Regions from separate parts of the Homo sapiens genome. Here all the other regions are linked to region 1. Evidence: promoter capture Hi-C in 16 types of primary human blood cells and fetal thymus (Javierre and others, 2016). All regions are on one chromosome and are shown on one strand. The core of a region is centred on a gene start or on the middle of the fragment in contact, and the rest is flanking DNA. Distances in the headings are between cores, read along the strand shown.

The links. The method cuts DNA at HindIII sites, captures the fragments that hold promoters and counts their contacts. A CHiCAGO score of 5 or more calls a contact.
Region 2: a contact is called between the fragment with the promoter of DNAJC9 here and the fragment with the promoter of VDAC2 in region 1, in 1 of 17 cell types (total B cells). The highest score is 7.6, in total B cells.
Region 3: a contact is called between the fragment with the promoter of PPP3CB here and the fragment with the promoter of VDAC2 in region 1, in 1 of 17 cell types (non-activated CD4 T cells). The highest score is 5.0, in non-activated CD4 T cells.
Region 4: the fragment with the promoter of SEC24C here is called in contact with the fragment with the promoter of VDAC2 in region 1 in 1 of 17 cell types (total CD8 T cells); the score reaches 6.4 in total CD8 T cells.
Region 5: a contact is called between the fragment with the promoter of POFUT4 here and the fragment with the promoter of VDAC2 in region 1, in 1 of 17 cell types (neutrophils). The highest score is 8.7, in neutrophils.
Region 6: a contact is called between the fragment with the promoter of CAMK2G here and the fragment with the promoter of VDAC2 in region 1, in 2 of 17 cell types (neutrophils and fetal thymus). The highest score is 6.0, in neutrophils.
Region 7: a contact is called between the fragment with the promoter of C10orf55 here and the fragment with the promoter of VDAC2 in region 1, in 5 of 17 cell types (M0 macrophages, neutrophils, non-activated CD4 T cells and 2 more). The highest score is 6.4, in M0 macrophages.

Annotation. Positions count from the first base shown.
Region 1 is chr10:75,208,987-75,212,449 of GRCh38, forward strand. VDAC2 (voltage dependent anion channel 2) reads left to right here and starts at 1,810. Exons shown (of 10, transcript NM_001391963.1): 1 at 1,810-1,952; 2 at 2,148-2,203; 3 at 3,244-3,312. The coding sequence starts at 2,173. RefSeq lists enhancers at 1,133-1,714, 1,445-1,739 and silencers at 1,384-1,693, 1,714-2,083. The HindIII fragment of the contact is 6,617 bases long and covers 487-3,463 here.
Region 2 is chr10:73,245,310-73,248,772 of GRCh38, forward strand. DNAJC9 (DnaJ heat shock protein family (Hsp40) member C9) reads right to left here and starts at 1,946. Exons shown (of 5, transcript NM_015190.5): 1 at 1,701-1,946; 2 at 1,379-1,519; 3 at 613-867. The coding sequence starts at 1,880. It overlaps DNAJC9-AS1 (DNAJC9 and MRPS16 antisense RNA 1), which reads left to right and starts at 2,058. Exons shown (of 4, transcript NR_038373.1): 1 at 2,058-2,074; 2 at 2,984-3,141. RefSeq lists enhancers at 1,388-2,587, 1,853-2,192 and a silencer at 1,503-1,652. The HindIII fragment of the contact is 5,448 bases long and covers 1,011-3,463 here.
Region 3 is chr10:73,494,457-73,497,919 of GRCh38, forward strand. PPP3CB (protein phosphatase 3 catalytic subunit beta) reads right to left here and starts at 1,568. Exons shown (of 14, transcript NM_021132.4): 1 at 1,349-1,568. The coding sequence starts at 1,433. PPP3CB-AS1 (PPP3CB antisense RNA 1) reads left to right here and starts at 1,296. Exons shown (of 5, transcript NR_132104.1): 1 at 1,296-1,361; 2 at 1,686-2,027. USP54 (ubiquitin specific peptidase 54) reads right to left here. Exons shown (of 24, transcript NM_001391956.1): 24 at 3,082-3,463. RefSeq lists enhancers at 635-1,094, 1,585-1,774 and a silencer at 1,155-1,504. The HindIII fragment of the contact is 5,148 bases long and covers 478-3,463 here.
Region 4 is chr10:73,742,731-73,746,193 of GRCh38, forward strand. It overlaps SEC24C (SEC24 homolog C, COPII component), which reads left to right and starts at 1,642. Exons shown (of 23, transcript NM_198597.3): 1 at 1,642-1,707. It overlaps LOC124902453 (a long non-coding RNA gene), which reads right to left and starts at 1,535. Exons shown (of 2, transcript XR_007062195.1): 1 at 1,487-1,535; 2 at 234-481. RefSeq lists enhancers at 984-2,183, 1,023-1,590, 1,261-1,690, 1,591-2,157. The HindIII fragment of the contact is 9,340 bases long and covers 1-2,070 here.
Region 5 is chr10:73,770,655-73,774,117 of GRCh38, forward strand. POFUT4 (protein O-fucosyltransferase 4) reads left to right here and starts at 1,622. Exons shown (of 3, transcript NM_173540.3): 1 at 1,622-2,387; 2 at 2,536-3,161. The coding sequence starts at 1,680. SEC24C (SEC24 homolog C, COPII component) reads left to right here. Exons shown (of 23, transcript NM_198597.3): 22 at 55-144; 23 at 301-1,507. The coding sequence ends at 441. RefSeq lists enhancers at 1,344-1,523, 2,114-2,223, 2,509-3,039, 2,884-2,933 and a silencer at 1,854-1,903. The HindIII fragment of the contact is 15,546 bases long and covers 1-3,463 here.
Region 6 is chr10:73,873,036-73,876,498 of GRCh38, forward strand. It overlaps CAMK2G (calcium/calmodulin dependent protein kinase II gamma), which reads right to left and starts at 1,520. Exons shown (of 23, transcript NM_001367534.1): 1 at 1,362-1,520; 2 at 1-48. The coding sequence starts at 1,426. RefSeq lists silencers at 913-972, 1,233-1,402, 1,463-1,622, 1,633-1,912 and an enhancer at 2,133-2,242. The HindIII fragment of the contact is 9,701 bases long and covers 1-3,463 here.
Region 7 is chr10:73,921,058-73,924,520 of GRCh38, forward strand. C10orf55 (chromosome 10 putative open reading frame 55) reads right to left here and starts at 1,720. Exons shown (of 5, transcript NR_160938.1): 1 at 1,576-1,720. RefSeq lists an enhancer at 1-410. The HindIII fragment of the contact is 3,151 bases long and covers 322-3,463 here.

The DNA.
Region 1 (3,463 bases), core at 560-3,059:
CTGGGCGACAGAGCGAGACTCCGTCTCAAAAAAAAAAGAAGAAAACCCAAAAAAACCACTGAGGTCTACCGGCGACATTATTGGATAGATGACTGCTTTGGGAGTTCCAGTTGAACCCATTTCTATTTCATTAGACTGCTCATTTTTTCTTTTTCCTTTGGCTCTGTTAAAAGAAAAAATTACAAAGAATTTAGTTTAAACATCTTAACTGGCTTTTAGTTCCAATTCTACAATTGGGCAACGCTTCATTCTGTAAAATGGAATGAATGTTCCAATGAGAAGAGGAAGTTGGTATTACAGACAGAAAAGGACCGAGGAAAGCAGAAACAAAAAGTGGATTAGTTGGTAGAAAGTTACTTTTCTTGTAAAGGTTAAAGAACACGGGACTTCTTCATGCCAGCTAAAACTGACCTGTTTGGGGATTTTTGTTTTGAGACAGGGTCTTACTCCAGCGGGCAGGCTGGAGTGCAGTAGTGGCACCATCTAAGCTTACTACAGCCTCAACCTCCCAGGCTCAAGCGATCCTCCCTCCTCAGCCTCCCAATTAGCTGGGACTACAGGCGCCAGCCACCACGCCCGGCTATTTTTTTTTTTTTTTTTTTTTTTTTTGGTAGAGGCAGGGTATTACTATGCCTAGGCTGGTCCGGAACTCCTGAGCTCAGGCGATCCGCCCACCTCGGCATCCAAAAGTGCTGGTATTACAGGTGTGAGCCACCGCGCCCAGCCTGTTTGGGGATCTGGCTAGCATCTGTTTCTCTCCTGATTTCTTGGAAGGTCAGATAAAGATCCTAGCTTTGGCGTGGTAGTGTGAAACTTCAGCATGAGTAACCCCATTTTGGTTTGGTCTGATGGGCCTAATGCAGGAGGTCAGTCTAAACTAACGGTCTCCCATATACATTTTATCTAATAGCTCTGTCACCCTTCCTGCACACCCGGGGAACTCGGGTGCGGCATTCTAACGCCTGCTCAGCATGATTCCACATTTTCTCCAGGCCCATAATCCAGAGGAGGTTGGGCCCGGAGCAGGCTTGCCTCGCCAAGCTCCGGCTCCGTGCGTGTGTGAAGCAGTGCCATGCCTGAGTGGGGAGGAGCCGCGGAAGAGAAAGCGTAAGGCGGCGTGGAAATGGGTGGGGCACGCTAGGACCCGCTCACATTTGTTCAGGGAGAGGCAGTCCCAAAAAGCCTCTCAGGCACACAACCCAGCACAGCAAGGCAGTCACACCAAGGTGGGAAAAGAGGGCAGAAGAGCGCGAGGGGCTGGAGGTGGCGCCCCTGTGTCCCACTCGTTCTCCCTGGGCTGGGAAAGAGAAGCGGTCCCTCAGAAGCGCAGGCTGCGCTAGCTTAGGATGGACGTGGGTAACGCTCAGCTGACTCCCCGCAGGCACCCTATGCAGGGCTTTGTTTCGGGGGGGAACCCGCACCAGCGCGTAAGGGGAGTAGGAGAGATCTACGTGACCCTGGTGCGCAGCCGCGCCCTATCGCCCCGGCCACGCGCCGACGCCCCGCCCCGTCCGTGACGCGTTCGCGCGGGGCCTCCGCCCCATCCCCCTCCCAGGCGGTCCCCAGCGCGCTGCCTCCGCCGTTCCCCGCCCCCTCGCCTCTGAGGCTGCCCGGATAGCTGCCTGATCCAAGGCCCAGCAGCTTCTGCCTTCCGGATCCCCACCGACGGACGGAGGCAGCCCACCTGCAGGACCGGGGCGCTGTCGGTCCACGTGGCCGCTCTGGAGCAGGTTGGAGTTGGCAGCGGGCTGCGCTGCAGGGACAGGCGCGGCGGACAGCCCCGGGGGCAGCGGCGGGGTCCTGTCTGGGAGAGGACAGGGTTGCGGCGGGCGGAACGGTGTCTCCTTCACTTCGCCCTCCAGCTGCTGGAGCTGCAGCCCGACCGCGAGCGTGCCAAGCGGCTTCAGCAGCTAGCGGAGCGGTGGCGGCGGCCCCCCTCAGGACACCACCAGGTACCGCCGCGCCCGCCTCACGCCGACCCAGGGGCCTAGGCCGCGGCGGCCAAGCCGGAGGCCCGCGCCGGACTCGGAGTCGGCCCTGGCTTCCTAAGATGGCCGCGCTGCCCCGCGGCCCCTCGCCCCTCTCTGCCCGGGATCTCCCTTTGGCCCTTTGACCCCAGCTTACCGCACTTCTTGTCCCTCCCGCAGATTCCCCTCTTCCCGCGGCCTCGCCATGGCGACCCACGGACAGACTTGCGCGCGTCGTAAGTAAAGCTGGGATCTCTGCGGGATGGGGCGGCGGAGAGTCGAAGCCTGTCGACCAGAAACCCAGTTTGTTTCCCCCTATCTTTCCAAGAACTTGGAAATTCGGCTGCTTTTGGTGGTCGCCCCACCGTCTGACCACCTCCTCTGCGGAGGAGGGGCTGGGCTGCTGGATTTCAAATGGGGAACAAGGCCCGGGGAGTTGGTCTGTGGCCGCATGGACTTTTCAGCCTTTGTACATGTCTTTGACGTATAGAAGTAAAAAGTTGTTAATTGGGGATTCTGCCTTTGGAGGATCGGATCAATCACTTTTCTAGAGGAAGTAGCAGTCCCTCTTGTGAGAGCGCAAGGTCATTACTTGTGCTCCTAAGGGCGTGGACGTGCTTTGTGGAATGAATGAGCTGGTGTAATGAGCTCAGATTGCCTGCCCTTAAGCAGCACAGCATTGGCCGAGGACTTGAGAGTCACATTAGTAAGTTTGAAGCGCTATTTGATATTTAGTTGATGTAGACATTTGAGTGAAACACACATGGCAGTATTTTTTCCAAGTTTCAATATTTAAATTCCCAGTATTAAATTCTCTTCCCACTCCAGGGTGTTGGTTTTCCCCTCAGCGAAGATATTAAAGGACGTATCAGGGTAAAGGGCCTAGTCTTAGGTTTCGGTTTTATCTAATTTAGTTAAATCAGCTCATCTCAGTGAATTTTGGCAGATACATAAATATCCATACACACAAATACTTGTTTGATTCTTTGTACTTGTCCAGTCCTAGGAAGTGAGGCTGTAGGTAATAGACTGTTTTTCCGTTTTGAAACGAATTCCCCAAGTTTGTATAATCATGGTTATCTGTTTTAGAAATAATTCGTTGGTGGTATCTCCTTTATGGGTCGTTATAGTTCTATTGTAGCTCCTGACCGCATAAAAAACATTCCAACAAATGGGATTGCTTGAATTTTAATATCAGCAGTGGGTCATGCTCTTGTTCTTGGATAGAAGGTGGGAGAATAGAGACATTAACACTGGAATGTTTTTTTTCTACCAGCAATGTGTATTCCTCCATCATATGCTGACCTTGGCAAAGCTGCCAGAGATATTTTCAACAAAGGATTTGGTAAGAACCTTATTTTTAAAACGTTTTAGATAAAGAGTGAAAATGTATGTTTGGGTTGCTTAGCGAAATCAGATCAATCATTGCAAATTGTAAATATCTTGCTGCTTTAAATTTAGAGTTACTTATTTTTTTGAGACAGGGTCTCCCTCTG
Region 2 (3,463 bases), core at 696-3,195, 2.0 Mb before region 1:
TAACGCCCGATGATCTAAGGTTTCATCCTGAACCACCCCCCCAACTCTCCTCACCCCCACTGTCACTGGAAAAACTGTCTTCCACAAAACAGGTACCTGGTATCAAAAAGGCTGGGGACCGCTAAGCTAAAGTTTTTCTTTAAAAAAAAAAAAAAGAAAAGAAAAATTCTGTATCCAACTCAAGAATCAAATTCGGGGCAAAGGCCCAAACATCTGCACTTTTAACAAGACGGTGTCTGCCATTCTCTTCTTACCCCCTCAACCGAGTAAGGATCACTGCCCATCCTGTGTACCCGGGTTCCACTAACTTTATCTCCTGAGGAATGCCTCAGGAATGCTACAAGAATTGGCCTACATGAAAAAATATTTCAGTGCTACTTTACTATGGTAATATTTAAACAATCTATGCAATAAAAATCATCTTGAGCACAACATGCTAGAAAAAGTTTCTCTTGATGAACTGGTATGCCCATTTTATTAGATCGAAACTATAGACCAAGTTAACCCTAGTCCTTATTTCTGGAGTTTTATGTTTACTTCTACTGCTGTAAATACTCTCAAATCCTTTTTGGAAGCAGTCAAAATATAAATCCACAGTATTCAAAATCTTACCCTCCTTTTCCTTGCATTCATCTTTTGTTTCGATTCTTTGACAAAGGCATTATAGGATGGGACCTCTCCGGCGTCAATAGCTTGCTGAATGATATTCCTTATCCTGGGTTCCTCTGTGTACTGCACGCAAAGCACAGACTCCATGATCTGATCCATGTCACCCTTGAAGTCCAGATAGGCCTGCTTAATATCAGCCAGCTCTTCTTCCGAACCTTTGTATGTCTTTTCAAAAGCTTGAATGTCCTCTAAAGATATCTGATGATAAAGGAGATTTGCTTTAACTTTGGGAATTTTACTTTAAATAAAACGTACGTTAGTAAAACTAGAGTTGGGTGTTGAATTGCTGCAATACAACAGTTGCTTGAGTTGAAATTATTGAACCAGATTTTCTATGCCTAAGCTTCTCCGGAGTCCTCCTTTTTAAATCCAATCTTCATTAACTGCTAACTAGGGACCAGGGAAGGGAAATTTAAGTGAAATTTCCAAGAGTGAGAGGTGATCCGGAATCAGGACTTACATTTGGATATGTAAAATAAAGCGCATCCGGCAAAAAAAATAAATCGGCCCTTTTCAGTGCAACAATCACATTAACAGGAAATTTAAAGCCCGTTTCAGTAAGCGTGCGTGTATCTGTATTTCAAGGCCAAACTCAAAATTCCTAATTCCTACAAAATTAACACAAAATACAAGATCTTAGAGGCAGTCAATAAAGGTTTGTTGATTGAATGATGGTAACAGTCACAAAGAAACCTCCAGAGTCCTTTACCTTTTTAAAGAGTAGCCGCCAATACGCCTCCCAGTCTCGGTCTTGGGTGAGCACAGGAGAGTCCTCGTCCACTGTTCCCTGCTCATCGTACACTGCTCTCTGTTCTCTGTCACTGAGAACGGAATAGACTTTTCCCAGGATCTGAGGGCAAAGAGTATCCGTAAATCACCCCTGCTCCTCCCACCGAAACGGCGGCGCGAGAAATAAAGATCAGAAGGCGCCAAGCGGAGCTCAGCGCGCTCCCCCGGGGCGGGGCCCGGTAGCCAAAAGGCTAGGGGGAGGCCCGCGCAGCCGGTCGGCTTCGGGGCGGGACCCTGCATACCTGGAAGCGGCGGGTGGCGTCCTCCTTGTCGCCCTCACCCACCCGGTCCGGGTGTACCTGCAGGGACACCTTGTGGTAGCCTCGTCGGACCTCGCCGTCGGAGGCCTCGCGTCGCACGCCCAGCACCCGGTAAAGGTCGGCGGTGCCGAACACTTCCTCGCAAAGGTCCAGCAGCCCCATGCCGGGCGGAGATACGACCCCGGAGGAAGCAGCCGCTCCCAGCTGCGCCGGGTACAACCCAGGACTGCTTCTTTTTCGCGCCCAAAAAGCCCAGGGCGCCTGCGTCACAAGCACTGAAGGGGCGTGGCCACGCCGCGCATCCGCGCTTTACGGCGGCCGCAAAATGAGGTGTGGCGAGTCAGGCGCGGGCCCGGGTAAGTAACGCCGGCATGTGGAGTCACAGTCCCCGGCCGCGCGCAGGAGCTAGGTCTTCAGGGAAGTGATGTTGCTCGGGTCTCTCCTCCCCTTGCTCTGGAAATCTGGCGTCCGTCTTACCTTTTAGTGTCCAAGAACAACTTTTTCAAAAAGTTCATATATTAGCTTGAATTTACAAACTGCTGGCCTATTTTTTTAAGTAGAAAACGGCCAAACATCAGCATTCAGCAGTTACACATGGTTCAACTTAACAGATGTGTTTTTTCAAAAATGTTCTTGAAAGGAATAGGTAAAGCTGTAGACCCAAATAATTTTGCACCCCACTGGTTGGAAATGCTGGGGTACTTTCCCTCTAGCCCTGTAGGAAAAAACCCTATACTGAAACCCAAAAAGCACAAAACACGGGTCTTCCAAAAACTCTTACCTAATAGGACTTTCACCTTACACATTGGTGGAGAGAGATAACATGACCCAAGCCTCCGTCTTAATAACATAAACTGCTGAAGCAAAGGCTCTTTCTTTTAATACTCTGTGAAGTTCACAGCTGGGTTTGAACATGTTGGATCCCAGGTGGCAGCAGAGTGGGCTGGAGCAATCATCCAAGAGATGGTGAGAAACTTGGGCCTGGAGACCCAAAGCAAGGTTGAGGCTGGGGATAAAACTTTGTTAGTAGGGTAAACTCACAGAGGAAGTATGTGTATACATATCTTAAAGGATAAACAATGCTAAGTGAATACCCGAGTTGGCAGAAAATACCTTATCAAATATCCCCTCACTGATGTAGCATTTTTCAGAATCATTCTGCTCTGCCAATAAGTTTCTGCAAAGCCTCAAACTCTCCAGGATACATTAATATCTTTTAAACTTCCCAGAGTTGCCGTGATTTTCAAAGCATTTCTCTTTCCCAGATCCAAGATCAAACTCAGCTGAAGTCAGTTCCTCTCAACCTGCCCTGGCATCAAAGTCTCAAAGCAAGTGGGGGCCAACCAGCAACAACCCCAGGGGAGCTTTGACAACCACAGAATTTGAGATGGCTGGTAATCGTTCTCAGAACATAAAACACAAAGTAAGTCGGCACATTGATAGAACCTCCTCTATAAATTTCCTATATCTTAGTCACACACCAGAGTTAAGCCATCTGTCTTTGCTCATTTTTCCCTCTATGGACAACATAATATGTTGGGAAGGGCTTTCCAGGAGGGCATAACCGGGAGATGAATCTTACATCACTGGGCAAGTTTCCACCTCTAGGCCTCAGCTTCCCTATCTGTAAAACGGAGATAATCCTACCTGCCTTCATAATACCTTACAATTGTCACAAATAACCTTGTACACAAAAGGCCTAGGATATATGTAGATGCTTTGCAATATTATCTTTCTTCCAGTTT
Region 3 (3,463 bases), core at 318-2,817, 1.7 Mb before region 1:
TTTATTTTTTGTATTTTTGGTAGAGAAAAGGTTTCGCCATGTTGCCCAGGCTGGTCTCCAACTCCTGAGTTCAAGCGATCCGCCTGCCTCAGCATCCGAAAGTGCTGGGATTACAGATGTGAGCCACCACGCCAGGCCAAATTAGTATTATTCTTTTAAGAACCGAAGAAGGCTCAGGTTGAAAATTTTTAATTAAAAAAAAAAAAGAAAAAAGGTTTCCTTGTTTTTAAATATTTTAATGGAAACATATGAGTCAGATTTCAAAAAGTAGGCTAACGGTGTTTAAATACTGTGCCAGTGTATTTGAGAAGCTGAATGAAAACAAAAGTACCTATATTTTAAAAATAAATACAATACAAATAAGGAAAAGTTCATTCTACGATTTCAATTTATCAATCAAGCTACATGGTAAAGAGAATCATTTCAATTGTTTTTCACCTCCACAGCAGTGTTTGAGGTTGGTAGGCTCTCCCAGGAAGCTTGGAATCTTAAGCAACTCTCAATTAGCCCTCAATTTCTCTATTTTAAATTAATCTGCTGACCTGTTGTGGGTAAACATCCATAAATTCTGCCCTGGCTGAGAAACATTTAACTTTTTCGTCTAGGATGAATGTGTGGGTGTGTGTTTGTAAGGGAGGGGTAACTCCTTTTGACCAAAGTGTTGATGGTTTTCTAAGTAAATACTTGCTATCCACAAGAATTTTTTTTTTCGTTTATGCTGCTTTTTCTCCCTTTCTGCACTATAAAGGCTGGCCTTCCAATTCCTGCCCCGACCCTTCACCGTGATCCAATCCCACAAGGTTCCCCTAATTTCTGCTCCGGGTGGCACCTGACGGCCAAAAGTGAACCCCTGCGGTTGTCGCCAGCTAGACGCGGATAGGGCGGACGACTGTCACCGGGGAGCAGGCGTGGGCCAAAGCCGAGGTGATTTCTGACTGCTCACTGGCGGGCCTCGCGTGGCTGAAGGTCTCCGAGCCCCTCGGTTCGCCCCGGCAAGCCAGAAGTGCAGCTGTCGCGGGGCAGGAAGCTAATCGCGGCCCCTGCGCCGCTTTGACAGGCCGAGTGAAGAGAAAACGGGCTCACTGCAGCTAACAGCCTCACCCCTTGGGCTAGGAAGCCACGGAAGCAAAACCTCCGCCCCGGCCTGAAAGCAACCGGGAGACCGCGGAACCACTGCCACCGACTCAGCCCTGCCCAGCAGGGGCCCGCCCAGGGGCCACTCCCCAAGGGAGGCAGCCAGTCACTCGCCCGCCCTTCCGGGCCCACTCCCGAGGGGACGGTCTCCCGCCCGCCCTCACACACAGCTAGCTCTTCAGGCCAGGCCCCCAGGGTTTCGTCCACCTCTCACCTTTGACGACGCGGTCAGCCCCGGGAGGGGGCGGCGGGGGCGGGGGTGGGGGCGGTGCAGCCCGGGCCGGCTCCGGGGCGGCCATGCTGGGCCCGGGGCTCGGCTAGGCTCTGGGCCGGGCGGGGTTGGGGGCGGGGGCGGCGGCTACCAGAGCCAAGCGGCGGCGCCGCCGGGGAACATGGCGGACCCTCTTTCCCTACAGAGGGGCTAAGACCGGCATGCACTGCGCGTGCGGGGGTGGGGGCGGGGTAGGCTCTAGGGACTTGGGCAAAATTACTGAAGCTAGGAGAGAAACAGGACGAGGCCAAGGGATCAGGTTAAAATTCTTTGCATGCAGAATGAAGAATGAGGAGGTGCTGCGATCGAACGACTGCGAGGAAACACACCCGCTCTCATGGCATTCCCAGTAAACTGAGAAGACGTGATTAAACCTCAGGATCTCCTACTAATAGAGAAATGTATAACGATTTAGCTACCAGATCTGAATACTGAAGGGTTGGTAGGGGACCAGAGAATAGAGGAAGCATTGTAGGTTCTAGAGTGGAGAAGGGACCATCCAAAATGGAGTTTGAAAGAGAATTCTGGCCTTTGTGTTTAGAGTCTGGAATTGTCAAGAGTCTGAAAGCACAGAATAAGACTGCAGCTAGAGCAATTTAGGCGCCATAGTTTGTCAAAACAGGTAAGGGGAATAAAGGGGATGACACCAAGAGATGTGCAAAGAATCTGAAGAATTCACCTGAAAAGGATACAACCTCCTCCTGGAAGGCAGAGGAGTAAATAGGGAATTGGAAATTAATTCCTTATTTCTGCACATGCACAGAATCTGGGCCCAGGTGACTTATGGAACCTTTATAGAGACCACGGTGACTGACACTCATGGGAAAGGGGGTAGAGGGGCAAGAACTGACTGTTCATCAAAAATTATTAGATGAGTGTGTCCACGACACCAGGAGATATGTTGAATCATGGACAGGGACCAGCATATCCACTAAGCTCTATATATCTTGATGGTGCAGGATCCAAGTGGGATGGAACAACCAATTCCTGCCCATCCTCCTGCTCAATAATACATGTGCTCAGAATCTGTTCATAATGCATGGTGGTAAGTAAGTAGTAGTCCGAAGGTCCAAGGAGTACCTTTCTACCTCTTCTTTGTGTCAATTTCTATCCTGAGACCCCAGGAAAAGAGGAAGGGAAAGACCCAACAATGGATTTTTTCCAAAAAGGGAACCCACAAGCTATTTTTTAGAGGGAAGAGTCTCGGGAGTGAGGCACAGGTGAAAATGGATCTTTCTGGCATGGAAGGGCCATAACACCACAGGGGAAGGGAAAGGGAGAGGCCCCCACGGAAGGAGAGGAAGGAAGGGACAGGAGGCACGTCACAAACTTATAAGATAGAGGGAAGGCACCTGGAGTACATTGATCAGGAGTGAGTCTGTAAGAAGAGCTTGAATCCCCAGAAAATCTTCCTAAGGAGGGGAGGAAGGAAGTGTATAATGTACTGAGTACTGAATGCTCTGTCAGGAAAGGGATGGGAAACATCCTAGCAGCAATACTAGAAAGGAAAGGCACCCTATTTTAGGACCCATTGATTCCCACCTTGATTGTATATCCTTCAACTCGTCTCTGGCTCCTCACTTCCACTCAGTCAAAAGCCACTTCATATATTTATCCAGACTTCCAGCCCCAATACAAAGAAAGCAAGAGCATACAAAGGGAAGAATGACAAGGAATTAAATAGAACTGTCTTATAGATTTATTAATGAAAAATACTTTACAAAAACAGTATGTTTGGCCTAAAATAGTTCAGCTGACTCTGAGGGTTTACATTGACGACTGAGCAAGTGGCAATAATGGCTGTGTTATTGAGGACAGAAGGCTGTGTTAGTGTGCCTGACTCCATCTGTTCAAAAGGGTGAATGTTATGTTGGCAGCTCCGCATTCTAGGCCTAAGGTTTGGAGGGCACAGGGAATGCTGACAGGCCATAATACCTGGGCAGGGGGGCTGCCCTGATGATGTCATCAGAACCATGACCACAGGGCTACATGTCCCCCCAAGGATGGGAGACAGGGAAGACAAAGGGTCAGGTAATAGGGATAGGTGGATAAAACAAA
Region 4 (3,463 bases), core at 392-2,891, 1.5 Mb before region 1:
GTGCAAATTTTTCAGTGAATAAACCACTCTGTGCCTCAGAATAACTGATATTTACTGTCAATAATATGAGAACAAACACTTTTGTTCACTGCTCTATTTCCAGACCCAAGAACATGGCTTGGCACACAATGTCAGCGCTCAGTGGGTTCACCCTGCCTGCTGCCTTGACAAAGCTGATTTATCAAGACCAGGGAATTGCAATGGAGAAAGAGTAATTCACGCAGAGCCAGCTGTGTGGGAGACCAGAGTTTTATTATTACACAAATTAGTCTCCCTGAGCATTTGAGGATCAGAGTTCTTAAAGATAATTTGGCGAGTAGGAGCTTGGGAAGCGGGGAGTGCTGATTGGTCAGGTTGAAGACGGAATCACAGGGAGTCAAAGTGAGGTTTTCTTGCTGTTTTCTGTTCCTGGGTGGAATGGCAGAACTGATTGAGCCAGGTTACTGGTCTAGGTAGTCAGCTGATCCAATGAGTGCAGGGTCTGCAAAACATCTCAAGCACTAATCTTAGGTTTTACAATAGTTATGTTATTCCTAAAAGCAATTTGGGGAGGTTCAGACTCTTGGAGCGAGAGGCTGCATGTCCCCTAAACTGTAATTTGTAATCTTGTAGCTAATTTGTTAGTCCTGTAAAGACAGACTGGTCCCCAGGCAAGAAGGGGGTCTTTTCGGGAAGGGGCTATTATCAATTTTGTTTCAAACCATAAACTGAATTCCTCCCCAAAGTTAGTTCCACCTACACCCAGGAATGAATAAGGACAGCTTAAAGGTTAGAAGCAAGATGGAGTCGGTTAAGTCTGATTTCTTCCACTATCATAATTTCCTCAGTTGTAATTTTGCAAAGGCAGTTTCAACAGCAGTGCTCGAAAAATTATGAAATCAACAAATAGTACTGAAAAGTTCAAATGAAGTCATATATGAAAAAGAAATCCTAGCACTGTTAGCTATAATTACTTAGCCATTAAATGGGGTACTAATAATTACTGCAGGAACTATCTTTTCCAACAGAGCGCAGAGATCTTTTGGCTCTGATAAAGCTCTGCACCTAAACAAAGGCGCTGTATAAAAATGGTTAATAACAATTGACCTTTACTGAGTGCTTACTATGATGCCAAGCGGCCTATGTGGCCTAATTTCATCCTCTGGGCATTATTATTTCCATTTTACAAGCTGTAGAGCCAGACCTCAGACCCCCACATGCAGGTTGACAACAGTTGGTGCCCTTTACCACCACCACACGTTCCGCAAATCTCATAACCAGCAAACGCCATGGGTGAGAGCAACCTAGCGGACGGAAATCAACGGGGTCAGGGGTCACCAGGAAGTGACTACAAGACTCTAGCTCAGAGGTCACTAATACGTCACAGGCAGAGTGAAGGGGCATTATTAAAGATAGTTTGACAAATTCTTTTTAATCTCATTTCTGTTGGTGAGGCCATAAAGTGACTGGAACATCTGAAAAAAAATGTCAGGAGGGAAATACATACGACTCAGCAGAGGCGCACAGGCGGCGGCCATGATGGGAAGATGAAAGAGGCGCATGCGCGGCATCCGGGTCCCCGAAATGCAGACGTGGCAGAAGAAGTGGCCCGGCCCTAAAGCGTGGAGGAGGAACTTCCGGGGGTGACGGGACGGCCCCCTCGGAACCGGAAGTGGAGCCTGGGAGCCTTGACGTTAGGAACGAAGTCTAACCTGGATCTGGAGCCGGGTGAGGAGTGGCATCGGGAGGTTGGCGGGTAGGAAAGCAAAGGAGAGGTCAGGGTATTACTGGCCAGATTGGGGTCCGGTTTCAGAAAGAAGGGAGGAGCCTGGGGGCGGGGCCTGGGTAGAGACCCTCACCTCACGCATCCACCATCCAGGAGCAGGTCCTAGACCATCCCTTCGTCTCCCGGCCCAGATTCCGGCTCCTGCTTCCTGCCCCGAGCCTGTTAAAAGGTGCAAGACGTTTGGTCTCTGTGCTTAACAGAGCAGCCCCCTCTCTTAACGTGGCCCTAGAAGCCGACTTGGCTTCTCGGTTTTGATCCTCGGCTCTCCGAGGCTCCATGGCTTGACTACTTTCAGAGTTCTAGGAAGCTTGCCCCGCCCCCTTGGGTTGTCACCCTCGACTATCCACCCAGAATGGAGTCGAGACTTCAGTCTGACTCCAAGCTCTTGAATGTGTTTGAGGGGATTATTTTCTGGAGAAGAAGCTCCTTTCTTTACCCCTCCCCCCGGCTTTGGAAACATAAAGGGAGAGGACATATTTTAAACTTAGTGTCAGTGACCTACCTCTGTAAGGTTTAGGGTTTGGAAGAACAGCTATTGAGATAACTTTGAGTTTAAAGAGTTTTAGACCAGGATCAGCTCCTTTTCTATAGTCAAGGTGGCCCTTCTAGCAAAGGGGGAGAGGTCCATTGTTCCCTTTGCAGCAACTCTGAGTGCTCCTGCTTTCTGGGCCCCTTCTGTCTACAGGATAATTGGAATGATACAGCTGTTGAAAGTAGATGTGATGAGATAGTTTTCTTGGAAGGACCCTGTTTAGAAAAGGCCCTCTAATTCATCCCTGTGTTGATGAGCAAGATTGTAATAATTTTGATGGTGGCTGAGATTCATAACAATCGTAAGGGGAGCAGAAACAGGAGAGTTGGAGAAGTGCATTGGAATTTAGAATATTCATAGTCTTCTGCTTGAGGGATGAGGTGAATGATTTTTTTCCATGAAATCTAACTCTAACTTTGCCCCTGATTCTTGAACTGTTTCCTCAGATTATGTGAAGAAGTTTTGGTGCCTGTTCTGCACTTGGTTTTAATCTGTTACCTTGCTAGAGTTTTCAGGTGTCCTTTATTTTTTATTTTTTTGAAAGGGCGTCTTGCTCTATTGCTCAGGCTGGAGTGCAGTGGCACGATCTCGGCTTATTGCAATCTCCGCCTCCCGGGTTCAAGCGATTTCTCCTGCCTCAGCCTCCCAAGTAGCTGGGATTACAGGCGTGTGCCACCATGCCCGGCTAGTTTTTGTATTTTTAGTAGAGACTGGGTTTCACCGTGTTGGCCAGGCTGGTCATGAACTCCTGACCTCAAGTGATCTGCCCGACTTGGCCTTCCAAAGTGCTGGGATTACAGGCATGAGCCACTGTGCCTGGCCAACTTTTATTGATTTTAATGCTTCGGTTTTGGCCGGGCGTGGTGGCTCACACCTGTGATCCCAGCACTTTGGGAGGCCAAGGTGGGTGGATCACGAGGTCAGGAGATCGAGACCAGCCTGGCTAACAGGGTGAAAACCTGTCTCTACTAAAAATACAAAAACTAGCTGGGTGTGGTGGCACGCGCCTGTAATCCCAGCTACTCGGGAGGCTGAGGCAGGAGAATCGTTTGAACCCAGGAGGTGAAGGTTGCAGTGAGCCGAGATCGCGCCACTGCACTCCAGCCTGGCAACAGAGTGAGACTCCGTCTCAAAAAAAAAAAAAAAAAAAAAAAACCTTCAGTTTT
Region 5 (3,463 bases), core at 372-2,871, 1.4 Mb before region 1:
CTTGACTGAACTCAGAGTGCCTTACCATAAGGATAAATGAATTTTGTGTTCTAGAGTGTTCTGCCAGTTCTGGATAATCCACTGTCCAAGAAGGTTCGAGGCCTCATTGATAGCTTACGGGCACAGAGATCCCGGTACATGAAGGTAACACTGATCTGAACCCTGGATTTCTTACCTTGTCAAGTCCTCACCTAGAAGTGGGGGTTGGGTGGGGAATGAGTAAGTGACTGCCTAATGAGATTTCTGGGCATGTTTAATTTCCTTTGGCCTTGCCTTATGAACCCTGAATTCTGGCCGTAGCTTACCGTGGTGAAACAGGAAGACAAGATGGAGATGCTGTTCAAGCACTTCCTGGTGGAAGACAAGAGTCTGAGTGGGGGAGCATCTTATGTGGACTTTCTCTGTCATATGCACAAGGAGATTCGGCAGCTACTGAGCTAAAGCAAGTGGGTAAATGGCATAGGGCCCAGGCTAGCTTCCAGAAAGCACCCCAGGATGTCAGAGAAATTGGGACAGTAACATATCTTATGTAAGCTGACCTCAGTCTCTCTGGGGGGAGGGGGAGATATAAGGAGACACCTTCTTTCTGGGCTCAAGTATCCTGCCACTCTGTCATGTCCTGCTGATGGAAGGTGCCCCTGTTCCCTCATTCTACCCTCTTTTTCCTGCTAATCCTGTCATAATGAATGTAGCTTCTCAGTTCACTGTATATGATTCGGTATTGGGGGTTTGGAGGCACCCAGACCCTGGCAATATTATGTGTCCCTTTGGACCAGTCTCCCAAGAGGAGAGGGGCAGGCAGGAAAGAGTGGGGATCCTAAGGTTACTACAGGGGGCTCAGTGTCATCCACAACTTCCTATATTAGGGATAAAACATATAGGTGCACAAGAGCTGGGGTATAGCCCATAGGTGGTGGAGAGAAAAGTGGTCAGTCCTTCTTGGGCCTGGAGGTTAGCAGTCAAGTTTCTCTGCTTTCACTGCTCGCTCGCTCTCTCCTGCAATGATTGATGATCACTCCGTGGATAGAGAGGCACACTGTCAGAGGTGACCGGAGAACTGAGTTGCAAAATATATTAAGATCTGGTAGAGGTACCAGCTTCCTTTCCAGCTGGAGAGGCCCCAACACTGGATGGTTCTGTAGGGAGCCTAGGGAGCCTGGTCATCAACTTGCAATACCTCACAGAGCCAGTTCACATCCCACTCTGAGCTCCCACGAGAAACACTGCTTCTCCAGGCCCGGGGTTGTTGGGGAGAGAGGCAGAGGCAGCTGGAGCGCCGTTCTCTCCTGCTGGGACACCGCTTGGGCTTTGGTATTGACTGAGTGGCTGACAGTTATCTTCCAACCCCAACTGGCTTGGGGGCAGGACAAGGGCTAGGCTTGATGGTGGCCAGGCTTGCCTGCTCCCCACCTGGGATGCCCCTGCTCTGGACCTCTCATTTCTCTTCATTGGTTTATTTTTCAATGCATCTTTAATTTGTAAAGAAATAAAATAAATTAAGATGTAACCATTAGCCTCATCTTTACTCCCGAAAGCTCACTTTGCTTTTAGTCCTGGCCGTCGGCTGAGCGAGCTGCGCATGCGCCACGTGCCCCCGTGGCGTAGGGCCTCGTCCGGTCACGACTATCCGCTGGGCGGGGTCGGTGCTGGCCGAGGGGGCGCCGGCTGCCGGAGTGGACATGGCGGCCGGCCCCATTAGGGTGGTGTTGGTCCTTCTAGGGGTGCTCAGTGTCTGTGCAGCCAGCGGCCATGGGTCCGTAGCGGAGAGGGAGGCCGGCGGGGAGGCGGAGTGGGCGGAACCGTGGGATGGCGCGGTTTTCCGGCCGCCCTCGGCGCTGGGCGCAGTGGGGGTGACGCGCAGCTCTGGGACGCCGCGGCCAGGGAGGGAGGAGGCGGGGGACTTGCCGGTACTGCTGTGGTGGAGCCCAGGGCTATTCCCCCACTTCCCGGGAGACTCGGAGCGCATCGAGTGTGCGCGCGGCGCGTGCGTGGCGTCCCGGAACCGCCGAGCGCTGAGGGACTCGCGGACGCGCGCGCTGCTCTTCTACGGCACAGACTTCCGCGCGTCGGCCGCCCCGCTGCCGCGCCTGGCGCACCAGAGCTGGGCGCTCCTCCACGAGGAGTCGCCCCTCAACAACTTCTTGCTGAGCCACGGCCCGGGCATCCGCCTCTTCAATCTTACCTCCACCTTCAGTCGCCACTCGGATTACCCGCTGTCGCTGCAGTGGCTGCCCGGGACCGCCTATCTGCGCCGCCCGGTGCCTCCGCCCATGGAACGCGCGGAGTGGCGCCGCCGCGGCTACGCGCCGCTGCTCTATCTGCAGTCACACTGCGACGTGCCAGCGGACCGGGACCGCTACGTGCGCGAGCTCATGCGCCACATCCCGGTGAGTGAGGGCGGGCCGGAGGGAAGGAAAAGGAGAGGGCGGGTTGAGGCCAGGACTCCAGGTGTCCAGGACTCCAGGTGTCCAGGACTCCAGGTGTCCAGGCCTCCAGGGCCGCACCCTCATGACAGCCTTACTGTACCCGGTCTAGGTAGACTCCTACGGGAAATGCCTGCAGAATCGGGAGCTGCCTACCGCGCGGCTACAGGACACAGCCACGGCCACCACCGAGGATCCAGAGCTCTTGGCTTTCTTGTCCCGCTATAAGTTCCACTTGGCCCTGGAAAATGCCATCTGTAACGACTACATGACAGAAAAACTGTGGCGTCCCATGCACCTGGGCGCTGTGCCCGTGTACCGCGGTTCTCCCTCTGTGAGGGACTGGATGCCGAACAATCACTCCGTCATCCTGATTGATGATTTTGAGTCTCCTCAGAAGCTGGCAGAGTTTATTGACTTTCTGGACAAGAATGATGAGGAGTATATGAAATACCTGGCATACAAGCAACCTGGGGGCATCACCAACCAATTTCTTCTGGATAGTCTGAAGCATCGGGAGTGGGGAGTGAATGATCCTTTGCTGCCTAACTACCTCAACGGCTTCGAGTGTTTCGTCTGTGACTACGAACTGGCTCGGCTGGATGCCGAGAAAGCCCACGCGGCCTCTCCCGGGGACAGCCCCGTCTTTGAGCCCCACATTGCCCAGCCCTCACACATGGACTGCCCAGTGCCCACACCTGGCTTTGGCAATGTGGAAGAGATTCCTGAGAATGACAGGTAAGAGTGCTGGGGTCCCCTGCAGCTATCAAATCATTTACTTACTTGCTTACTGTGGGCAATTAAGTAGCACTAGGTGCTGAGCAGGTGCAGGAGGAAATTATCACATGGGCTCATTCTGTATTTAAGGTGTCAACAGTCTAGTTGGGGGGATAAGACAAGCTGAAAAAGCTGAATAGATGTAAAATATAATTCAAGGCAACGTATGAAAATCAGCTTATGTGAACAATGTTTCCAGTAGTGGTTCAAAAAGATTGAACCAGAGTACAGGGCCTGTGCAGACAGGGGAGAGAGAAAATGGG
Region 6 (3,463 bases), core at 270-2,769, 1.3 Mb before region 1:
TGCGTGGAGGTTTTCTTCACACACCTGCGGACCACAGAGAAAGCACCCCTGGAGGGAGAAGGGGAAAAGAACTGGGACACGGAGCAGGGCAGAGTGACACAGACACACTTCAAGTCTGGGGACGATGATGCTCCCACCACCAGACCTCTAGTCACACTCACGTACATGCACACACACCGGCGCTGTGACCACCACCATCCAACATGAGGCAAAAGGACGCGGCCACCGCAGGACACTGAACAGATGTGGGTGGCGTGCCGCGCTCCCACCCCCTCATCCAGTCCCTGGGCAAGGCAACAGCCTCCACCTCAGGCTGCACATCAGGAGCGGGTGGGCGATGCTGAAAACACACACCTGCTGCATCTCAGACAGCCCTGCGGTCCCGGCCAAGAGAACCAGGGCAGAAGGGAGCAGAGAGACCCTGCCCTTCTCTCAGCAGGAACAGTTGAAGGTCGGGGAAGGAAAGATTAAAAAGAGGGTATCATCCCCTGAAAGAGAAATCTCCCTCAACCATGGGGCAAAGTGAGGCTCAAACCCCCCCACAGCCGGTTTCATCTCACTGCATCCCGGCTCAACTGACAGCAAGGGAAGAGAGGACACAGTCAGACATCAAGAACTCCCCTTCCCATGCTATTTTCCTTGACGTCCCCGTCAAACGGGAGCTCGCACTCTGAGCTCTGGAAACGTCTGGGGGGGCGGGCGGGGCGGGGGCTGCAGTGGCCGGGCTCGGCGCCGCGGGTGGGGGTGGGGGGCCGGGGCTGCTGCAGCGGCCAGCTCAGTGCGGAGGGGAGGGGGATGCTGAGGCTGCGGCGCGGCTCCCGGGACCACTGCAGGGGTGGGGGGAGGGGACGGGGGTGCCGCAGCACTGCCCAGCCGCGGGGCTGGGAGCCTGGAGCGGCACCCGCGGGGGGCGGGGCCGGGCGCCAAACAGCCCCCCCACGCCCGGGCTCCGCAGCAGAGCTAGGGCTGCAGGGCTGGGGAGGGTCCTGAGTGCGAGGCGCGTGGGACCTGGGTTCAGGGTGCGGAGTGAGCAACCGGGCAGCGTTGGGAGGTGGTCGGGAGGGGGGCGCCTGAAGGGTGCGGAGGGGCGGGGCTGGAGGGCACCCGGGAGCGGTCCGGGGTCTGCGGTGTCCGCGGCGGCGCGTGGGGAGCAGCGGCCCCGCCAGTTGCTGCAGGGCGCGGAGGGGGATGCGGGGCAGTGCGCGGGGGGCGCGGGGACCGAAGGCGGCGGGCGGGAAAGGCGGGGGTGGGGCGGCCGAGGGGGAGCCGCAGCGGCCGGTGCAGGGCCGGGGGGCGGGGCGAGAAGCCGCATAGCTCCCGGGCGGCAGGGCAGGCAGGGGACCGCGGCGGGCGGGCCGTACTTGCCAAGCTCCTCGAAGAGCTGGTAGTCGTCGGTGAAACGGGTGCAGGTGGCGGTGGTGGCCATGCTGGCGGGCGGGCGGACGCGGCGGTGCAGCCCGCGCCGACGTCGGTGCACAGTCACCGCCGCCCGGCCGAGGGAGCAAGAGGAGGAGACGGGGCTGAGCCCGGCAGCACCGCGAGACTTTACCGGGGAGAGCGAGGGAGGGAGGGACACCCCCGCGCCGCCCGCCCCGCCCCGCCCCCAGGCCCCGCCAGTCCCCCCCCCCGCCCGGCCCCCGGCCCGCCCCCGGGGAGGGGCCTCCCGCCGCCGGCCCCGCCCCGCCCCGGAGCCGCCCTCGCTGGGCCAGGCGCGCGGGGCAGCCGAGGGGAGGGGGTCCCCGCTCCGGGCCACCTGTCTGGGCAGACGGAGCTGGAAGGTTCGCGACTTATGGGCTTGTCCCGGGGCGGACCCCGCGCGGGCTCGGGAACGTGCATGCGAGGGTGCATGTGTTAGGAGTGTAGGAGTCTGGACCACTGACCTCTCTGGACGGGTCCTACACGCGGGTCCCGAGCCCCCAACCGGGCTCCTAGCACGTGGGGAGAGAGCCAAGGTCAAGGAGCCTGTGCCAGGCTGCACGCCCGGGAGGCGCCCCCAGCCTGCGCAGAGCCAGCTGCCAGCCGCCTTCCCTCTGGGAGCTGACAGTCTAGACTTGCGCAAGCACCAGGGCCATTATTAGAAAGAAACCCTTCAGGCGCGGGTTGATCAGGGAGACCAGGCCAGGGGCAAGGATACAGGTAGGACTCTGCCTTCCTGCACCATAACTGCAGAGATGAAAGAGTATTCTCTATCCGGCCAGAAATGAAAGGGGTGAAGTAGGAAGACTTGAAAAGGCTTTGTGCAGTGGGGGCTAGAAGAGAAAGTGGAAGAAAGGGGAAATCCCCATTTTCTTGCAAGGCACCCTCGTACTTTTATTTTCTGGCACCTACCACATTTTGTAGTGATGCATTGACTGGTATAAGGGGCAGTAGAGCTATCTCATAGCTGTCTAAGCGTGAACTTGCATCAAACTGCCTGGATTGGATTTCTAGGCAACTCACTGATCAGCTCTGTGACCTGGGGTAAGTCACTGAATCTTTTTTTTGAGACGGAGTCTTGCGCTGTTGCCCGGGCTGGAGTGCAGTGGTGCGATCTTGGCTCACTGCAGCCTCCACCTCCTGGGTTCAAGCGATTCTCCTGCCTCAGCCTCCCGAGTAGCTGGGATTATGGGCGCGCGCCACCACGCTCGGCTAATTTTTTTGTATTTTTAGTACAGACGGGGCTTCATTATGTTGTAGTAATGAAGTATGTATGTAGTACATACATGAAGTAATGAAGTATGTATGTAGTACAGAGGTGGCTTCATGAGCCACCTCGCCCGGCTGGGAACAATAATATTACCTACCTCATAGGCCTGTCAGCATTAAATGGTCTAAGGCACTTAGAATAGTACTTGGTGCCTAATTAGAACTACATTTGCTGGGCCGGGCGTGGTGGCTCATACCTGTAATCCCAGCACTTTGGGAGGCTGAGGCGGGTGGATCATGAGGTCAGGAGTTCGAGACCAGCCTGGCCAACATGGTGAAATCCTGTCTCTACTAAAAATACAAAAACTAGCTTCCCGCTGAATTGTAGGCTCCAATAAAGCGGGGCCTCTGCACCTTTTGTTCACCATTGTACACTCAGCCCCTGACCCTCAGTAAATATTTGTGGGATGGCAGAGGGAGATACCATCCCTTCTCCTGTCCCCACCATCACAAGTTGGTGGGACAGAGGCACATAACTGTCTTGATGGGGGACAAACAGGCTGGGCAGGTTCCTGACCTGCCTGGGCAGCTGTCCCCTGAGGCTGAGGCCAGCCCCAACTGGGCAGGGTGGAGCTCAGCCAGAGGCTGCCACTCAGTCTTGATTACAGCAGGACGCCCACTGGGAGTCGGGTCTCCCTCGCCAGCAGGCTCGCTCTGCCAGAGGAGGGGGCTGAGAGGTGTCCCAGCCTCCCAAGCTGCCTCCCTGAGGGGTGGGTGGGGCAGAGCTCTCCAGGAGTGCTCCCCTCCTGTCCTGACCCAACAGCCCTGAGAGCTGCTT
Region 7 (3,463 bases), core at 470-2,969, 1.3 Mb before region 1:
CGCCTCAGCCTCCCAAAGTGCTGGGATTACAAGCATGAGCCACCATGCCAGACCAACACTGTGCTAAATTATTCATGTGTTGTCTGAGTTAATCCTCCCAAGAATCCTATGAGGAAGGTAGTATCACTAGCCCCATTTAACAGTAGAGAAAATGGAGGCACAGACAGATTGAGTGACTTGCACGAGGCAATGCAGCTCCAAATGCAAAGAGTCAGGGTTCGAACCCAGGCAGCCATCTCCAGAGTCCTCATGCGCGGTACTAGGATTTATCACCTCTCAGGAGAGTCCAACTAGGGCAAAAGGAGAGCAGCCCCCCTTTCAAGCTTTCTACTTTATGGTTGCTGGGTTTCTAGGCAACAGCTATCAGAATTTTTTTTTTTTTTTTGAGACGGAGTCTCACTCTGTTGCCAGGCTGGAGTGCAGTGGCGTAATCCTGGCTCACTGCAACCTCCGCCTCCCGGGTTCAAGTGATCCTCCTGCCTCAGCCTCCTGAGTAGCTGAGATTACAGGCACATGCCACCACGCCCGGCTAATTTTTGTATTTTTAGTAGAGACGGGGTTTCACCATGTTGGCCAGGATGGTCTCGGTCTCTTGACCTTGTGATCCACCCGCTTTGGGCTCCCAAAGTGCTGGGATTACAGTTGTAAGCCACCCGCCCAGCCCAGAATTTTTTTTTTTTTTTCCATACACAGTCTTGCTCTGTCGCCCAGGTTGGAGTGCAGTGGCCCATCTCGGCTCACTGCAACCTCTGCTTCCCAGGTTCAAGCTATTATCCTGCCTCAGCCTCCTGAGTAGCTGGGATTACAGGCGTGCACCACCACACCCGGCTAATTTTTGTATTTTTAGTAGAGACGGGGGTTTCACCATGTTGGCCAGGCTGGTCTCAAACTCCTGACCTCGTGGTTCACCCACCTCGGCCTCCCAAAGTGCTGGGATTACAGGCGTGAGCCACTGCGCCCAGCCTCATCTATCAGAATTTTAATCCTCTCCTAGATAACAATTCTTTCCTCCTAGAAGATTCCCAGGCCAGATGAGGAGACCACACTCAGCCATTGGTTTCAAAGTAAAACTTCACTGTTCTCACAGTAACCTCAGCCTTTCTGCTGCAATCTGGTTTCATTGAAGTGGTTTCCGTTTTCACCAGAACCCCTCTTTCTGAAGTATTCTCAGCCCATTATATTAACAGCACTCAGCCTGCTTTCCACGTATGCCCTATCTTTCCCAAGCTGACCACAGCAGCACCCCTGCCTATACCCCTCCATACTCACTCCCATTGGGTCCACCTTCCTTCCAAGAAGGAAACATTTAAGCCCTCCCTTTGAATTAGATGAAGTAAGAGGAGTTGCTGAGGTGTTTTTTAAAAATCAATTCTGGGCTAGGTGCAATGGCTCACACCTGTAATCCTAATACTGTGGGAGGCCTAGACGGGAGGATTGCTTGAGCCCAGGAGCTCGAGGCTGCAGTGAGCTATGATTGCACTACTGCACTCCAGCCTGGGTGACAGAGCAAGACCCTGTCTCTAAAGAAAAAAAATCAGTTTTATTGAGATATAATTCATATATCATACAACTTACCCATTTATTCTTTCTCTTTTCTAGAGACAGGGTCTTGCTCTGTCACCCAGGCTGATCTCAAACTCCTAGGCCAGAGTGATCCTCCCACCTCAGCCTCCTGAGTGGCTGGAATTACAGGCTCATACCACCACGTCTGGCACCATTTGAAGTGTACAATGCAATGGTTTTTAGTAGATTCACAGAATTGTGAGACATCACAATCAATTTTAGAACACTTCATCACCTCACAAAGAAATCCTGTACCCACTCACAATCACTCCGTTTTTCTCCCCAACCCCCTCAGCCCTAGGCAATCACTAATTTACTACTTTCTGTCCTCTCTGTGGGTTTGCCAATTCTGGGCATTTCATATCAATAGAATCCTATAATATGTGGTTCTTTGTGACTGGCCTCTTTCACTCTTAACATGATGTTTTCAAGTTTTATCCATGGCATAGCATGTGTCAGTGAGGTTGCTGAGTTTTAATAACAAATTGAGGGAAAAGATGGTCTAGGCGAGGTGCAGTGGCTCACATCTGTAAATTCCAGCACTTTGGGATACCAAAGTGGGAGGATCCCTTGAGTTCAGGAGTTCCAGAACAGCCTGGGCAACATAAAGAGGCCCCATCTCAAAAAAAAAAAAAAAAAAAAAAGGATGTTCTAGGTCTCTTTTTGAGGTTTCAGTCACATTGAGATTCATTCAACAATCTTTGTCATTTCTTTCTTTCTTTCTTTTTTTTTTTGAGATGGAATCTCGCTCTGTCGCCCAGGCTGGAGTGCAGTGGCGCAATCTCGGCTTACTGCAATCTCTGCCTCCCAGGTTCAAGCAATTCTCTGCCTCAGCCTCCCGAGTAGCTGGGATTACAGGTGCCTGCCACCATGCCCCACTAATTTTTTTCTATTTTTAGTAGAGACGAGGTTTCACCGTCTTGGCCAGGCCGATCTTAAATTCCTGACCTCATGATCCACCTGCTTCGGCCTCCCAAAGTGCTGGGATTACAGGCATGAGCCACTGCGCCCGGCCCTTTGTCATTTTTTTAAAGTACCCATACACAGGACATTATTTTAGATACAAATGAGGCAGTCCTAGTCCTCAAGGAGCTCACCACTTTGCAAAGTGCTATACTAAGTCTGCATAAAATGCATGGAAAAATAATGAAGAAGCAATTGATTCTGCCTGGTGAAGTCAATGACGACTTTACAGAAGAGGTGATATTTTACCTGGACATTCAAATACACACAGAAATTTGCCAAACTAGAAGAAAGGCATTGTAGGCGTAGGGAAGTTCATGGAGGCATGAAAAGGTGAGGTGTTCTAAGGAAATGAGGAATAGTCCATTGTGGTGGAGAACTCTGGGGGGCAATGAGTAGGTGGAGATGGTGGGGAAGGATCTGGTGGGATCCAGCTGGTGATGACCCTGCTGCAGGACTGATTCTCAGCAGCAGGCACTGGTTCTGCTCAGTGACTAAACAGATGCTGTCCTGAGATCCTCTCCGCGTGGCCCCTGCCATCAGCCTCTCTCCACTTCTTCATGATCCAGCAACCACAGGGTTAATGCCTGTGGCACAGCAAAGGCCTCTGAGATCCTCCCTCCTCCAGCTGGCTCAGGCGAAAGTGTCCTACTGGGGTATCTTGATAGTTAAATATTTTGACTATCACCTCTTGCCCTCAGGCACTATTTTTCAAAATCCAGAAAGTGAATTAAGTTCTAGAAGCCATAAAAAAATTGGCTTTTTAAACTAAACATTTTTATTCAATTGTAAAAGTAGCTACAAATGTAAAATACTTTCATAGCATTCCACAGCCATTGTTAACATCTCTGGCTTCTTGGGTTCCTTTGTAATCTCAACCTCTTTTACTCGGTCTTAAATGTTAGGATTCCTAAAGCCTGATCTTAAACTTCCTATT